2 separate regions of the Homo sapiens genome follow, and region 1 is linked to region 2. The links are contacts of gene promoters, found by promoter capture Hi-C in human tissues and cell types (Jung and others, 2019). All regions are on one chromosome and are shown on one strand. The core of a region is centred on a gene start or on the middle of the fragment in contact, and the rest is flanking DNA. Distances in the headings are between cores, read along the strand shown. Region 1 overlaps LOC105369715 (a long non-coding RNA gene). Region 2 holds the start of TSPAN11 (tetraspanin 11).

Evidence for each region. Contacts are between HindIII fragments. The study calls those that stand out against the background at their distance.
Region 1: a contact is called between a fragment that was not itself captured here and the fragment with the promoter of TSPAN11 in region 2, in 1 of the 25 tissues and cell types used here (dorsolateral prefrontal cortex).

What each region holds. Positions count from the first base shown.
Region 1 is chr12:29,903,242-29,907,146 of GRCh38, forward strand. The region is part of intron 4 of LOC105369715 (a long non-coding RNA gene); the gene reads right to left. Among named protein-coding and RNA genes, the nearest start is that of TMTC1, 120 kb to the left of the region's middle. The HindIII fragment of the contact is 4,307 bases long and covers 120-3,905 here.
Region 2 is chr12:30,923,623-30,928,093 of GRCh38, forward strand. TSPAN11 (tetraspanin 11) reads left to right here and starts at 3,126. Exons shown (of 8, transcript NM_001370302.1): 1 at 3,126-3,174. It overlaps LOC124902911 (a long non-coding RNA gene), which reads right to left and starts at 3,067. Exons shown (of 2, transcript XR_007063264.1): 1 at 135-3,067. The HindIII fragment of the contact is 5,500 bases long and covers 338-4,471 here.

The DNA of each region.
Region 1 (3,905 bases), core at 1,023-3,522, 1.0 Mb before region 2:
ATTCTCCTGCCTCAGTCTTCCAAGTAGCTGGGACTACAGGCGCTTGCCACCACACCTGGCTAATTTTTTGTAGTTTTAGTAGGGACGGGGTTTCACCATGTTAGCCAGGATGATCTAGATCTCCTGACCTCGTGATCCACCCGCCTCGGCCTCCCAAAGTGTTGGGATTACAGGCTTGAGCCACTGTGCCCGGCCTCTAGTGACAATTCTTAGAGGATAATGAATGATGTAATCACATCACAATGAAAATGGCTCAGGCAGTAAGATACAAAAATACAGCACCATTACAAACACGAGGCAGTGACACTCTTTCAGAGACATATTTCTGTGTACTCCTTTCAAAACATCAAGCTGTACACTTTAAATATATACCACAAGTTTTAAAATTAAACAATAATAAAAATATTTTTTTAGAAAAGGAAAAGAATTCTTAGTATAGCATTGTATGTTAATGCCAAATGAGTGATTGAATATATACTATAGGAGTTGAAAACCAAGAGAAATTTGTAGATGCTTAGATGATAAGGGCAAGATTAGGGAACAAGTGAGGCTTAATGGTGCCTTTGAAGGACAAACAGAAATTAAAGACAGAGAACAAAAGGAAGGACATTTCAGAACATGGGAAAATACAAGATTAAATATGGATATGGAATATCTGTATTTCAGGGTAGTAGATTCCAAACTTTGAAATCACCAAGGAAGATTTTAAGTCTTGGGTGAGGGCTGAAAATATGCAGATTAAAAATATACTTCAGGTACTTGCTTATTAACTCTGCAGGATAGCAAAGGAAATTTAAGACATTACAAATCTCTGGTTTGCCTAGTTCATTGACTCCTGGTCCCTCACTGTGTACTTAACTTTCTGCTGTTTCATTAACTATGGGTTCTTCCTAAATCAAGATTTTGGGAAGCACCTGTTATCTCTTATTCCCATTCTCTGATGAAAGTCTTAGACTAACTGTAGCATCACCAATGACTCCTCCACCAGCAACTCTTGAAATCAGTTCCTTTAAGTCAAACTTTCCTCTAAGTCTAATGAACTTTTCTGTTTGGGTGATTCACCCTAAATTCAGAACACCCTAAACCCAGATTTAACATTTTATCTAAAAAATGCTCTGTCTCCCCATTTCCATCACCAGTTCTATCATGCTCCCAATGAGTCTAAAATTTTGGCATCTTTGACAATGTCCTCTCTACCATCATTCATCTTGATTTTTAAAATGTCTTTTTTCTATATGCTTCTTTCCAGCCAATGTCACTCCAACACCAGGACAGGCCAATAGCTTGTCCCAAAATTAATAAAGGAGTCTTCTGATGCTCGGCTCCAGAGTCTATCTCCCTGTAGCTGTTCTGGCATGGAATTGCCTGATTGCATTCCTTGTGACACACTCAAGTCCCTGAGGTCATCACCCTTAAGAGAAAACAAAAAACAAAAACACTCAACAATATTCTTTTGGATGTGGCATAAAGATTACCTTAGTCCAGAAGCCCCAGATAACTTATCCAAGCCAACTGTGTTTTATTCTTTTATAAGAATCCATCTTTGGCTTATTCCCTAATAAGCACCTGAAGTATATTTTTAAAATGCACATTTTCAGGCCTCATCCAAGACCTAAAAGCTTGCTAGGTGATTCCAAAACTTGGAATCTACAACCCTGAAATATGCATATTCCATATCTATATTTAATCTTGTATTTTCCCATGTTTTGAAATATTCTTCCTTTTGTTCTCTCTCTTTAATTTCTGTCTGTCCTTCAAAGACTCCATTAAGCATTGCTTGTTCCCTAATCTTGCCCTAATCATCTAGTCATCTACAAATTTCTCATGACTTTCAACTACTGTAGTATGTATTTGATCACTCATTTGGCACTTTCATACATCACCATACTAAATTTTCTTTTCCTTCTTTAAAAAAATGTTTTTTATTATTGTTTAACTTTAAAACTTGTGGTATATATTTAAGGTGTACAACATGATGTTTTGATATATGCAGCATCCCTGACTTACGATGATTCAGCTTATGATTTTTTGACTTAGGATGATCTGAAAGCAATACATAGCATGTCCCTTGATTTATAATTGGGCTAGGTCTGGATAAACTCATCATACATTGAAAATGTCATAAGTAGAAAATGCACTTTTGACTTATAATATTTTCAATGTATGATGAGTTTGTCTGGGCATAGCCCCCATTCTAAGGTGAGGAGCATCTGTGCTTACGCACAGCGAAATGGTTACTACAGTCAAGCGAATTAACATATCTATCATTTTGCACAGTTACCCCCTCCCTTTTTTGTGGTAGGAGCACCTGAAATCTATTTTCAGCAACTTTTCAATATACAATTCTATAACTACAGTCCTGATGCTGTATCTTAGATTACTACTCTTATTCATCCTACTTATCTGCAACTTTGTACCCTTCAATGTATTGTACATCTTCCCATTGCCTTCCCCTTCTTTTCATAAAGTTCTTCCTCCTCCTCCTTTTTCTCCCTCTTTTTTCCCCCTTCCTCTTTGTCTTTGATAAACAAATATATGATACAATTGAGGATTTCTGTAAAACCACTTGCTTTATTTCTGACATGTATCTTTCCTTGGGTCTTCAGCTACTGCTTTAGTACTGGCATTAGGCTCTCTATTTTTTATCTCCCATAGTATACTGCACAGAGTAGGTGCTCAACAAATATTTGCTGAAATATTTAATAATGAGTGAAATAGGCTTGTGAGATATAATTGACAGTAGAAAAGGAAGCCTCTAACATGAAAGTCACTGACTAAAACAGACAGAAGGATCGTAGAGGAAACAGACAGTTAAGAGAAGGGAAAAAAAGCTTAAAATATCATTTACATCCTCAGTGAAATAGAAATAGACGTTGCATCTATAAAAGAAGAGAAGATAACATACAGAGATCATAAAAGAACCAAGAAAACCTTAGACATTGAAAATATACTAGCAAAAATAAAACACTCAATATAATGACTAGAACATAAATTTGAGGAAAATCTCCCAGAAATGACAACAGCATGAAGATTAAGAGATGGAAAATAGTAGAAAAAATATAGAAAAGTAGAGCTTCTGTTCAGGAGGACTACCATTAGAGTAATAAGAATTCTATAAAGAAAGAATAAGCAGAAGAAAAGTGAAAGAAATCCAGAAAATTCTGGAAAAAAATATGCAATACTGGAGAAGATGGAACTTCTATATGAAAATGCCTACTGAAAATTCATACAATGGATGAAAAAGACTCATATCAGGTTATATTATTAGGAACTTTCAGAACTGTGAGGACAAATAGAAGATTCTAAAAGCTTCCAGAGGGGAGAAATTAAAGATCACATATACACATAAAGGCTCAAGAATAAGCAATCCTAGAAACTAGAAGATAGTGGAGTTCTGAATTCCAGAGGAAAAAAATATTGATTTCCCATATAGAAGTTTTATGTAGCCCATATAGCATTTGAGTGTGAGGGTAGATAAAAAGACATTCTTCAACACCAACGATCTCAGAATACATACCTTTCATTCGTCGTTTTCCACTAAGCCTCTGAAGGATGTACTCCACCAAAATAAGGGAGTAAAGCAAGAAACAAAATACAAAGACTCCAGAACAGAAAGTATCTAACACAAGTAAAATGCAAAGGGAATCTCAAAGATGAGGGCAAAGGCAGCTGAGGCCATTATCCTAAGCGAATTAACACAGAAACAGAAAACCAAATACCACATGTTCTCACTTATAACTGGGAGCTAAACATTGGGTACTAATGGACATAAAGAAGGCAACAGTAGACACTGGAGACTACTAGGGAGGGAGCAGGGAGGGAGAGCAAGGGATGAAAAACTACCTGTTGGGATTATGCTCACTACCTGGGTGGACAGGATCAATAGTACCCCAAAAGTCAGCATC
Region 2 (4,471 bases), core at 1,876-4,375:
CCTGTTCATTCTCACAGCACCGTCCATTCAATCTCTGGAGTACCCAACCTGGCAGAGAAACCTCCCTCCTCATACAACCACAGAATAAGAATCAAAATGGAATATTTCCAACTCCTATCTCATCTTCCTCATACCTTTTCTAGTCCAAGCTGAATTCCCATCTCCATTTTCATAGATGGTGGATTCTCATTCTTCCCCCTCACCTTCTTCAAGTATGTTTTGTGAAATAACATGGAATAGGTTAGGATCTTGTTAATGGTGCAGTGCTGGTAGAAGAGGCCAATTCCTTCATAAAAGGTAAGGACAAAAGAAAGCCAAAATCAAAAAGTCTAGGAATTAGAATTCTAGGCCTATGTGGTCTGATATGGTAGCCACTAGCCACATGTGGCTACTGAGCACTTGAGATGTGCCACATGCAACTGAAGGGCTGGATTATTTCATTTAATTTTAATTAATATAAACAAATTTAAAAACTGATCATTTGATTTTATTGTTGGAAAGCTAAGTATGTATATAACAACGTAGGCTTGTAAATCTATTTCCTCAACCAAAACGTTATGAAATCTAAATACACACTGAATATTTCCAATGAAAATGTAGTGTTTGCATGTAGATGTGCAATACACATAAAATATAACCAGAGTTGGAAGACTTAGTAGGAAAAAATGTAAAATATCTTATCGTTGATTTTTCATATTGACACACGCTGAAATGATATTTTAGATATACTGTGTTAAATAAAATATATCATTACAATTACTTTCACCTGTTTCTTTATATTGATTTTTTTTTTTAAACGTGGCTCACGGAAAATTTTTAATTACATATTATATTTCCATTGGTTCTCCACTGTAAACGTTTAATGTTACTGGGGATACTGCTGGAGAGGGACTACCCTAGCCCAGAGCTTCATTCATCACTCACCCTCTCCTACTGCTAGAAAGTCACTCCAGGCCGTTTTCCAACCCTCTCTTTCCTCATTGCTGTTTTAATGTTATTAACTTTGGTGAATACTGACCTCCCCTCACCCTTACCCTCTTCCAGCATTCTCCCCTCCTCGGGCCTACTCCACTCTTCTCTCTTCCATCCGGCTTTTGAAAATCCATCTTCTACTACGAATAAGCTTCCTCTTCGCTCCCCATTCCCCAGGCTCTTTCCTTCACACCACCTTCTCTGAGTCTTTCTAACCATCCCTGTCTGTTTAAACTGCTCCGTTAGAGGCCAAGTTTTGTTTCCTGCGCCCTTTCTCAGTGTCCCTGTACCTCCGGTTGGATTTCTAGGAAACAGACTCTGCACAGAGATGGAGATGGTATGTGGGAGGTCTCCTGGGACGTGCTCTTGGGAACAACACCTTGAGAGAGTGAGGGAAACAGGATTCGGCAGAGAATGAACTTTAACTGTGCTGCTTTCCACAGAGGCCTCGGCGGATCCCTTGGGAAGCTATGGAGCTGGGGTGGCCCTTCAGGGCCCTCCGTAATGGAAGCAAAGAGGTGAACCTTTGTATCTCCCCATCAACCAATTGGATCCGAGATACAGATGCCCCGCCCCAAGGAGTGGCAACCTGGTTTATATAAGCCACCACTCAAATAGTTATCTTGAACTAGCCCAGAGATCTCCTTCTTTCTAAATCTAAACCTATTTTCTTGGGCGCCCTCCTCCGTGGTGTCCCTGCAGCCCGGGCCCCGGCCCCCATTGAACCTCCCTCTTCTCCTGAGTCCTGACACCCCGCACAGTCCTGACCTTCCCTTATGGTTTCTCCTGATAGTTTCCGTTCCTTTCATGGGCTCCTTCTCGGTAGACCTAGATTCTGTCTTCAGCCCTGTTCTCTGTACCTTTTCTACCCTCTCCCTCCACCTCTTGTGTCGGCCCAACTTCTTTCCAGATGATTCCAAAATTGACATCCCTTGCCTCAGTCTCTCCTATGAACTCCAGAATCACCCTTCCAATTGCATTTGCTGGATATCTGCCCCTGGAAGAAGGTGGCCTGCTTCTCCAATCCAACTTGCTCCACACTAAACTCAGTCACATCACTCCAGGTTCTCCTCCAGACTTCCACAATGTTACAGCCCCAGTGTGCTCCTCCTACACCACACAGTCTGTAGACTCTCCTTTGCTGCAGCTTCCGCATTCATCCCCCAGTTAAGGTCCTCATCTCACGGGACTATTGGAATCATCTCCTTCCTGTGTGGCCCCCCGCGAAGCCCTTCTCAGCAGCCAGCTGGGGTATTTAGAACGTTGGTGCTCCCGGTACAGTGGCTTTGTCAGCGTCCCCTGCCTCCAGTGGCTTCCCTGATCTAGCAACCTGGTAAATGGGTAATCTTCCTCACTGCAGCTAAGTTTCAAAAGAACACGGTTGGATAAGCACAAGGCCCTTGTTACTTTGGGAAATAGATAATCCATGCCCCACTGTTAGGGCCAGTCCCGTTAGGGCCAGCTTTGCACCTTCACAGGGACTCAGCAGGAACAGATGGGCTCTACTCTCTGTTATTCCTTTTTGCTTCAGATTAGAGAGACCTTGATTCTCCCCGGGGCCCAGGAAATGTAAAGCTGATGCTCCACAGGACTCTAAGAGGGACACGGCAGTGATGGGGGCTGGTGAGGAAGGGGGATGGAGAACCTCTCTCTTATCAGACAGGCTTGTCCCTAGGGTCCCTGGAAACCCCCAAAGGCCAACCTCTCCCAGGGGCCGACAAACGTAAAGGGCAGGGAGACCTAAGCGGGGAGCTGCGGAGCGCGGGGAGTTTGAAAGCCGCTCCACCGCCCTACTAGTCCGTCCTTTTGCCCCGCCCCCCTTAGGGATCCCCCCGGCAACCGCACAGCTGCCTCGGACTCTGACTTAATTCCCTCCGCGTGCTCTGAATCGCAGAGAGGCAAACCCCCAAACAAAGAGCCGGCAGCTCGCGTGCGGGGCTCCCGGGCGCGTCCTGCCGGCTGGGCTGGGAGAGCCGGCGCCGGGGCGTCGCGGCCGAGCGCTGGGCAGGCGGGGACTAGAGGGCCGGCAGGAAGCCTCAGTGGGCGCAGGGGCGCGGGCCGGGCTGCCCACACGCTGACCTTCCCGGGCTGGGAGGGAGGAGCGCTGGCTGCGGGCGGTGGGCGGCTGGGCGGCCCCGGGAGCCGCCGCTCTCAGTCTCTCTAGGCGCAGCTCCCTTCGCCGCTTCCGGAGCCCCTGGCAGGGTAAGTGCAGAAGCGCGCCCGAGGAGTGGGGGCGCCGCGGGAGGGGGCTGGGGGTCCAGGAGAGGCGCCTCCACCTCCGCTGCCCGCCCCGCCGGCAGTCCCGAGCTAGACTGTCCCGAGCTTCCCCCGGGCGGGCAGAGGGAAGCCGGCTGGGGATGAGGAGTGGAGGAGGCAGGAATGCCTGGGACACTCGCGGGGCATGTGAGCAGGTATTGGTGTCTGCATGGGACACGCAACACGGTGTCCATAACTATGCGCATGAGTCTGCCTTTCTGCACTTGTGCCTTGGGAGAGAGCTCTGGGCCTCTGAGGGCCTCGTGCCGTCCAGCGTGCCCGGGGCATGTCTGTTCCTCTTGAAAATGTCATTCTTTGTCCACCCTGAATTCGAGTAGCTGCCTCTCATGGCTACACCAAAATGCTGTATCTGGTGCACATTGCTTTCAGAGGGCCTGTCTGCCTGTGCAGGGATGTCCTCATGTTCTGGGCACGTCTGTGTATTTGTGACAACATGGCTGTGTAGGCCCTGTCACCTGTGTTTTCGTGCCCATCCCTGCATGTGCAGTTGGCCGGCTCCGTGTGGAAAGAAGGCATGGAAGGTTCTGGGGTGTATCCTTTTCACCAGCCATATGTGCAGTGTGCACATGTGTGAATTGGTGGAAAGTATGAAAGGGAGGCAGCCCAGTTGGGCTTGGCGGGACAGCATCTTAACTTGAGTCTAAGCTGCTGTGTGCAGGAGGAATAAGTGTTCCAGAGGTCTCCAGTTCGTGGCAAGTATTGTGAGGTGAGCGTGGGGGTGGGGGGTGAGGAGAAGAGGCAGCTTCTGGAAAAACTCATAAGTGCACTCTGGGGCATAGGGTGTGTGTGGGGGAGCGTGAAGAAGAGAATGAGGGTGGTATTAGGCCAAAGTGGATAGTCTGTGTTCAATTTGTGGGCAGCTGGATTGCAGTGGAAAGCAGCAGTTAGAGGCTGGAGACAGGTTTGAATCAGAACTTAATGGTTGTCACTGTGTCAGTAGCATTGTTCCCTGGACAGATAGGTCATCTGGGGCTCAGTTGCTTTTTGTGCAAAATGGGACTAATAACCACTGGCCCCATCTGTCTCCCAAGGGACTGGAGGCTCCAATTAATGCCTGGAAATGCTTTGATGATAGTTAAGACTCCTAGGGTAAGGGGCACTACTGGCCTACAGGGGCCAAGTTGGTGGTCTGGCGAGGGCTTAGGTGGCCCAGAGCTGTTTGGTTTGTGGGTAGCAGAGGGAGGCATTTGTGTGCTGTTTCCCACTATATTCAGCATAGCAG